Linked DNA regions of Homo sapiens: all the other regions are linked to region 1. Evidence: promoter capture Hi-C in human tissues and cell types (Jung and others, 2019). All regions are on one chromosome and are shown on one strand. Each heading gives the region's core, a stretch centred on a gene start or on the middle of the fragment in contact. The rest is flanking DNA. Distances are from core to core; before and after follow the strand shown.

The links. The method cuts DNA at HindIII sites, captures the fragments that hold promoters and counts their contacts. A contact is called where the count stands out against the background at its distance.
Region 2: a fragment that was not itself captured here is called in contact with the fragment with the promoter of SLC6A4 in region 1 in 7 of the 25 tissues and cell types used here (lymphoblastoid cells, mesenchymal stem cells, mesendoderm cells and 4 more).
Region 3: the fragment with the promoter of BLMH here is called in contact with the fragment with the promoter of SLC6A4 in region 1 in 3 of the 25 tissues and cell types used here (adrenal gland, lymphoblastoid cells and mesenchymal stem cells).

What each region holds. Positions count from the first base shown.
Region 1 is chr17:30,234,447-30,237,146 of GRCh38, reverse strand. It overlaps SLC6A4 (solute carrier family 6 member 4), which reads left to right and starts at 1,450. Exons shown (of 15, transcript NM_001045.6): 1 at 1,450-1,534. It also overlaps a transcript of LOC105371720 not described here. RefSeq lists cis regulatory regions at 1-3, 1-42, 270-309, 186-1,010, 1-1,371, a silencer at 1,034-1,216 and promoters at 717-1,471, 1-1,471, 1-1,476, 1,372-1,666, 1-1,666 and 1 more. The HindIII fragment of the contact is 6,948 bases long and covers 1-2,700 here.
Region 2 is chr17:30,269,315-30,272,014 of GRCh38, reverse strand. BLMH (bleomycin hydrolase) reads left to right here. Exons shown (of 12, transcript NM_000386.4): 10 at 627-744. Among named protein-coding and RNA genes, the nearest start is that of BLMH, 21 kb to the left of the region's middle. The HindIII fragment of the contact is 4,054 bases long and covers 1-2,700 here.
Region 3 is chr17:30,290,628-30,293,327 of GRCh38, reverse strand. BLMH (bleomycin hydrolase) reads left to right here and starts at 1,384. Exons shown (of 12, transcript NM_000386.4): 1 at 1,384-1,521; 2 at 1,820-2,017. The coding sequence starts at 1,509. RefSeq lists silencers at 974-1,383, 1,584-1,653 and an enhancer at 2,104-2,163. The HindIII fragment of the contact is 11,402 bases long and covers 1-2,700 here.

The DNA.
Region 1 (2,700 bases), core at 201-2,700:
CCCTGCACCCCTCCAGCATTCTCCTTGCACCCTACCAGTATTCCCCCGCATCCCGGCCTCCAAGCCTCCCGCCCACCTTGCGGTCCCCGCCCTGGCGTCTAGGTGGCACCAGAATCCCGCGCGGACTCCACCCGCTGGGAGCTGCCCTCGCTTGCCCGTGGTTGTCCAGCTCAGTCCCTCTAGACGCTCAGCCCAACCGGCCGCACAGTTTTCAGGGGTCAGTTCCTCCAAGTACAAGGGGCGGTGGCTTCTCTGGAGCTGCAAACTTGTCACTGCTATTTCCTTTCGGTCTTCTACTTCCTATCGTTCCTGGCCTCCTCTTGGGGAGAGGTAGAGCCCTCTCCTTTCCGCCTCAGGGACAACCCAAAGCAAGTACTGCATGTGCCCTTTTTAAAGTTTTAAATAATTTTAGCAAAAAGGATATTAACATTAAATCAATTTTTAAACTTTTTGAAAAAATTATCAAAACTACATGCACATGGTTCAAAACAATAGGCTCCTGCTGGGCCCTTTCAGATAATTCAAATTGTCACCAGGTTGGAGTGCAGTGGTTCGATCACGGCTCACTGCAGCCTCGACCTCCCGGGCTCAGCTGATCCTCCACCTCAGCCTCCTGAGTAGCTGGGAACACAAGCGCGAGCAACCACGCCCGGCTAATTAAAAAAATTTTTTTTCTAGAGATGGGGTCTTGCTGTGTTGCCCAGGCTGGTCTTGAATTCCTGGGCTCAAGCAATCCTCCCGCCTCAGCCTCCCAAAGCACTGTGCTCCTTTTTGACGCAGCTTTGAACTGTAGCTGGTTAACAAAATGAGAACCAGTTCTTCATTCCTTCATTGTGGAAGTCTTTATTGTGAGACTCTGGGGACGGAGAGGAATTAGACAAGGGCCTCTAAGCTGAGCTCACATCCCAGCCGGTCAGTCAGATAAACGCATGGGTATCGAGTACTGCTAGGTCCCAGGAAGAAAGAGAGAGCAGCTTTCGGGATGGGGACGATGGGGAGGTGTCCGAGGTCAAGAGAAAGCGGCACGAGCAGACCCCTGTGTGCCGTCCTGTGGGCGCGGGGCGGCAGGGGAGGCGCACACCTGCTCCTTTGTGCAGCCTCCCCCCTCCCGCAAAGTTAAAGAGCAGGAAAGTCAGGATTCCTCGCTCGGCCCTGCCCTGCCGGCTGCTCCGCGCTCCGCTCCTCCCTGCGAGCGTGTGTGTGTGTCGGGGGTCCCTCCCCTCCTGGCTCTGGGGTCGGGCGCGCACCCCGCCCCGTAGCGCGGCCCCTCCCTGGCGAGCGCAACCCCATCCAGCGGGAGCGCGGAGCCGCGGCCGCGGGGAAGCATTAAGTTTATTCGCCTCAAAGTGACGCAAAAATTCTTCAAGAGCTCTTTGGCGGCGGCTATCTAGAGATCAGACCATGTGAGGGCCCGCGGGTACAAATACGGCCGCGCCGGCGCCCCTCCGCACAGCCAGCGCCGCCGGGTGCCTCGAGGGCGCGAGGCCAGCCCGCCTGCCCAGCCCGGGACCAGCCTCCCCGCGCAGCCTGGCAGGTGGGTCCGCTTTTCCTCTCCGCCTCGAACCCACGTTTCTTTCCAGACCTTCTTCCCCGCCTCGGGGAGGGGGATAGAACCGCTGCGCCCCACCGCCCTGCGAGGAGGCGAGGAGGTGCATGCGCCCCAGCGGTGGGCGCCGGATCCTGCCCCTGCGCCCTCCACGCTCAGCAAGAGCCAGAGCTGAAGCTGACCGGCCAGAGTGGGAGACGAGGAACGTGGAGTGCTCGAAGTGGGCGGGCGTAGGGGGCTCCTTTGTCTATTGTTGCAGGGGCTTTGCAACCTCTTGAGGACCCGTGAAAGACCCCTTAAAGAGGGTCTTGAGCAAAGTGCTGTCCTGCGCTTTGGGAAGAGTTGCTTGCTTTCGTTTCAACCCATGGTTTATGTTTGATCTTTACTTTGCTGTCATCGCGTGCAGGTGGCTTTATGCAAAGGGAGAGTTCTGGTTGACACAAATGCCCAGACAGCTAGAGAAATCTCTGAGTGGCGCCTAAGTGGGCCGAGTCTCCGTGCGCTTGGGTGGTTTCACTGTCAGAGCTGAGGCGCTCTCAGACACCTCACAGGCCATTCAGAATGTATGTGAAACTCCAACTCCAACGACTGTGCTACGTGGTTGAAGGATATAACCATCATTTGCTTGAAAATTGTGTACATTCAAACTTGTTCTTGAAAAAAAGCTCTCTGGAGCTCAAGAGTGGATTTGGGTCTTGGGCTAAGGAGCAGATTTTCTTCTGAACTGGGGCTTTTGCATATTGAATTGTTCCTTTTCCATTTGGGACTCTGAAGAATTTGAGAGGGGTAGAATTTCTGAATCAGACATTACAAAGACTTTGTGTATGTATTTTTACCATCAGTTTTGTCCAGAAAAGTGAACCTGGTCAATGGATTATTTATGAGCCTGCTAGCTAACTCTCATCATAGGAAGACGAGAGCAAATATTTAATGTGTTTTGCCTTCAGTTACATAGGAAAAATGTCTAAGAAGGTGACATTGGGACTTGTGTTTAATGAAACAGAGAACTGTGGGCAGCGTCAGTGTTGGGTTTTTAGGAGCGTAGGGAGCACACAGCTTTGACTCTTTGTCCCATTACTTGCTTCTGTGTGAAGCCACTGAGGCCCCAGGGTTCGGGTTTTCCTGCCACGCACTCTGGGGTGGCAGTGACCGTT
Region 2 (2,700 bases), core at 59-2,558, 35 kb before region 1:
TGAGTAAATATCTTGATAGAGAAATCTGCTAAAAAAAAGAATTAATGAGGTTTAAAAAATTTTTGAAAACAGGTACATGCAACTCCCAAGTGTGTCTCTCACACTAACTAGAACATGCAAGGACCTCTCTCACATGTATTTTGCCTTTTGTTTCTTTGTATTTAACAATGTGAGTGTAGTGCTTATGCAAAAATATTCCCCAATATTTTGGACATTATTTATTTAAATTTTAATCAGCAGTGATTTAAATGAATTCAGAAACTGGTTGGTTCCACCAGCTCAAAAGAGATCAGTTTTCTAAGAAGTTACTTCAAACGCTTTTTTCATTATTTTTTAAAGTTTTCTTGCCTAAATGACAATGTAAACTTGTCAGCTTCTGATGTGGAGAATTTATGTTTAATCATCTCCTTTTTTTCCTGCATACTCTTGTGACACATAGAGAATGGACTCCCACTGAGAGACTAAGTTCTGCATGTTCCATATTCTTTCTGAAGAGCTACAGCTAGAGCCTTATTTATTTGGAGCTGTTGAGCCCCTTCAGTTTCTTCTGAATTCCTTTTACAACCAAAAGCCAGTTTTCCCCATGATCGTACTCCCTTTATTTTGTACTATCATTCTTTTTACAGCTATGACCATGAGTTAGTGTTTGGTGTCTCCTTGAAGAACATGAATAAAGCGGAGAGGCTGACTTTTGGTGAGTCACTTATGACCCACGCCATGACCTTCACTGCTGTCTCAGAGAAGGTATGACCCTCAGCATGCCTGCTGGAGTGTTTGCACAGATGGATCTACATTCTCCTGTAGACTGTTTACCCAACAAAGCTTCATTCATAGTGTATATGATTTCTGTTAAAAGTTAGTTTCCAAGTAAGACATCGTACCTGCGTCACTTGGGGCTTGGCTGCGTGCTTAGAGGTAATATAAAAATAGGAACTTTCTATGAGGAGAATTTGGGTCAGCAGGGAGCGACCAAGTAACTGTTTCTGTAACTTTGGAAGGTCATGGTTTAAAGAGAAGTCAGCAAGGGAACTTGAGAGAAGATAACTTCTACTTTATAAGGAATCAAAATGTGCCCTGAAAGTGTTCATATCTTGATGACCTATGTTCAGATTTCCCTTCATTTGTCATTCAGATTCTTTTGCAGTAAAATGTCAATAACAGTAATTTGTGGACTCCATACCCATTTCTAGTTATATGCAGAGCTTCAGGAAATTGGATGTAAAGTATTTTGAATTTCCTGTGAAATAGTGTGTATAGTAATACCACTTTTTATAGGTTATAGAGTTGGAAACAACTGAAATTTTATCTTTCACAAATAAACTCCTCACTTCCAGTCAGTAAAAATAGATATTTTCACCTCTGTGCTCAGGATCATCAGGAAGGAAGAACTTGAACTACTTTAATTCTTTACCACCACAAGCAAAAATATTCTTTCTAGCCTAATTCCTGGAAAGTCACAGAATAACTACCTTATATAAATTGTTCTAGAAAATCATTTTTTTTTTTTTTTTTTGAGATGGAGTCTCACTCTGTCATCCAGGCAGGAGTGCTGTAGTGTGATCTCAGCTCACTGCAACCTCCACCTCTGGGGCTCAAAAGATTCTCCTGCCTCAGCCTTGCGAGTAGCTGGGATTACAAGTGCCCGCCAACACACCCAGCTGATTTTTTTGTATTTTTAGTAGAAGTGGGGTTTTGCCATGTTGGCCAGGCTGGTCTCGAACTCCTGACCTCAGGTGATCTGCCCGCCTCAGCTTCCCAAAGTGCTGGGATTACAGGCATGAGCCACCGCACCCAGCTAGAAAATGGTTTGATAGAGAATTGTTTTTGCTATCCTATCCACTAGATTTATGATCTTTAAAATGTTTAGAAATATCTTAGCATATCATTATGCCACATTTTCCTAACTAGCCTATCTAAAAGTCCTGATTTGCTTTTTATACTCTATGCAGAATTGTGAGTGGGATGGGGTTTTCTTTCTGTACCTTTTTCTCACCTCTTCCAACTACTTCACTTGAAGGGTGCCCTTTCAACCCCACAGCATCTAAGATCCCTGTGCTCTCTCTGTATTCAAAACTTGGTCTTAAAGGTTTAATTACATTCCTGCAAATTATAAGGCTAGTGCTTTAAGTAGTAGAACTCTGAGGTATTCTCAGTTTTATATGAGATCAAACACAGTATGGTGTAAAGGTGCCCTGAACTTAAGAGGCAGTCTTAATGCTGATACTCCTGATCCTCATGTAGTTTTCATAAATAAATGTAAAGGTTGAGGTCTTGTAAACCAGCGAGCTGTTTTCCTCATTATTCCATTCGTCAGTAATCTCAGCTCTGTAGTTAGCGAGACTCCCACACCAAGAAACAGGTTTTTAGGGTTACCCAGGAGAATGTGTGGAGTATAATTTGCATTACTTATGTAGATCAAGAAAAGTCATTTTAAAACAGCAAAAGGTGATTTAAGTGTTATCACCCCAATTTAACAAAATTCTCACATTTGAATTATAAACAAAACATAAAGTTAGGTTATAAAAGGAATTTTAGACCGGGTGCAGTGACTCACACCTGAAATCCCAGCACTTTGGGAGGCTGAGGCGGGAGGATCACCTGAGGTCAGGAGTTCAGGACTAGCCTGACCGACATGGCGAGACCCTGTCTCCACTAAAAATACAAAAATTAGCTGGGCATGGTGGCGTGCACCTGTAATTC
Region 3 (2,700 bases), core at 135-2,634, 56 kb before region 1:
TCATCAGCAGTTTGTCCAGTGCCTAGTACATGTTAGATACTGAATAAAAATTTATGACTTGAATTGGGCAGGATGCTTGAACATCATTTTGTGAAAGGACCAGTGATTTCTTTCTGTATAATTTTCAGCCTCTTCTTTTTCAGATATTGAAAGAACCTCAGAATAGGATGGTTGATGGGCCCACTTAAGATAGTTGCTATGTTATAGCCCCAATTTTTAGCCGAGTCTCTCTAGGGACATAGAAACCGTGCTTTCTCAAATGACTGATTGGTGCCTGAGTATGGATTTTTCCAGATATCAGAGTTCCTTAGAACTGCGATGATTTTCAATCTAAGAAGACCTAGATTCTAGGTTACACACACACACACTCAACCTCATCGTTTTGAATAGCAGATACAGGGTTTCAGTGTTTTTGTTTTACTCTCTGTGGGTTCTATCCCAGCATCTTACTAAGGGCTGAGATTTCAGGGCATGAAACACGGAATCAACAAAAACAAGGTTTTTACAATCTCAAAACTTTGGGAAACTGTTGAGTTATCTTGAAAGCCTAGAGGGGGAGCATCAGTTAGTTTTGTAGAGAACTCGGCGAAACAATATTGATGCATACGGCTAGCCTCTGTCATCCTCCTGAGTTAAACCCAACGGGACATGCTGGACTATACAGGAGCCACTCGTGGACTCCGTGAAGACCAGATGGGTAGTGTTCTTGAAATGAGCAGATGTCTATTTGTAGAACTCTGGTAGTAGCTTTGGAGTGGGTGGGGAAGAGCTTGGTTCCCATTCCCCCTCAAAGACAATTATTTGCTTCTGATGAGAATCCAAGCAACAAGTTGCCATTGAGAATGCAGTGATTGGTCAGCAAACGAAGCCTATAGGAAGAGCCTTCGGGTGCATTCCTTGTGACATATCGACCCGTCCTAAGCCCGACGCTTAATTATGGGACCTCTCAGCTCCTCCCTCCCGCCTCGAGCTCCCTTTTGGCTTCTCACAAGGCTTCCTGGGGACGATTCCCCGATGCTAGAGTACTGGGGGTCTGGGCCCACAGGGAACCCGTCAGCCTCCCTCCTTGGAGCGGGCCTGATCCCGGGAGGGCGCCCGCGCGGCCCGGAGGCGGGAACCTAGGGGGAGAAGGCGCCGGCGCCGCCCTGGCGCGCAGACCATCTGTGCGGTCCTGCGCGGGGGCAGGCGCGGCCTCAGCCCCCGGGCGCTGGCGGACCCAGCGCGTCAGCTAGGCCGCCCCCGTCGGCCCTCCCCCGGGCGGGGCCAGCCCCGACGGCGCTGACTCAGCAACGCGAGGGGGGAGTTTTGTCCCTCCGCGGACCCCGTTTCTCCCAGCCTCAGCCTCCCCGCCGCCGCCGCCGCCGCCGCCGCCGAGCCGGTTTCCTTTTTCCGGCGCTCCGGGTGCGAGAGACAGGTCGGGCCCCCTAGGCAGCGAGCCGCAGCGCAATCCCGGCGCTCGCCCAAGGACCCTGGAAGCTACCGTTACCCCGCCGGGCAGCGTGGGCGCCATGAGCAGCTCGGGTGAGGTGCCGCCGTCCCCCGCCGCGGTCCTCTGGAGGAGCTCCGCGGTCCCCGTGAGGCCCGGCGGCGGGGAAGGCCGGGGGCTGGGACCCTTGGCGATGGCGGGGAGGGAGCTTTCGGGGCAGGCTGGATCGGCCTGGAGGGAGACAGCTCCTTGGAGGAGGATGCCGCTTATGGGTTTCCCCGCTGCAGCGGGCACCCCAGGATGCGCTTACGAAGTTAGATTCGGGACGCGGGAGCCCCAGATCAGCCCTTTCCCCCTCTTTTTGCGTTAAAATCCTGTTTGGTCTCCCAACAGGACTGAATTCGGAGAAGGTAGCTGCTCTGATACAGAAACTGAATTCCGACCCCCAGTTCGTACTTGCCCAGAATGTCGGGACCACCCACGACCTGCTGGACATCTGTCTGAAGCGGGCCACGGTGCAGCGCGCGCAGCATGTGTTCCAGCACGCCGTGCCCCAGGAGGGCAAGCCAATCACCAACCAGAAGAGCTCAGGTGTGGGCTTCCACTTCTCCCATACGTTCCTTGACCTTCCTGACAGCGTCCCATTTTGGTGTCTTATTTAAGAGTGGTCTTAAATTCGTACTGAAAGAACTGGTCGTAAATTCGTAAAGAATGAGGCACAGGTACAGGCAGGTCTAAGAACATTACCCATGTGGTTTGTTTTGCTGTTCTGTGGCTTGTTAGTACATGCGGTTAGAGTACAAAAGTGACATGTCCATGAGTATACGTTTGAGTGTAATTGACTATATTATGTTCCAATGCTGTGTGGTTTGTAGCCCGTGTCTTGGAGATGTATGGTCTTGGTCACAAAACAGAACATGTGAAAATGTTCATATCTTTGGAGGACTCCCCAGAAATGCCCTGAAGGCCCTATACTATGAAATAGAAAAGATACAATGTAATTACATTAAAATGTCATCAGATGTTACTTTTAAATATGCTTCTTGGTTACAACTGAAGCTAATGTGCTGATGGGCTCAGTTCCCACCAGTAGATCAGTTTGTAATACAGAAAAAAGTTCTGTTCTCATGCCTTGCTGGTCAAGAAGTCTCGTTTTGCTATCTGCTTTCTAGCACCACTCTCAGAAAAAACAGGTATAGTGAAAGATTGGATATCCAGCAATCTAAATAAGGAGCACATTCTCACAACAAAATTGTACTAAACGGATTTTTTAA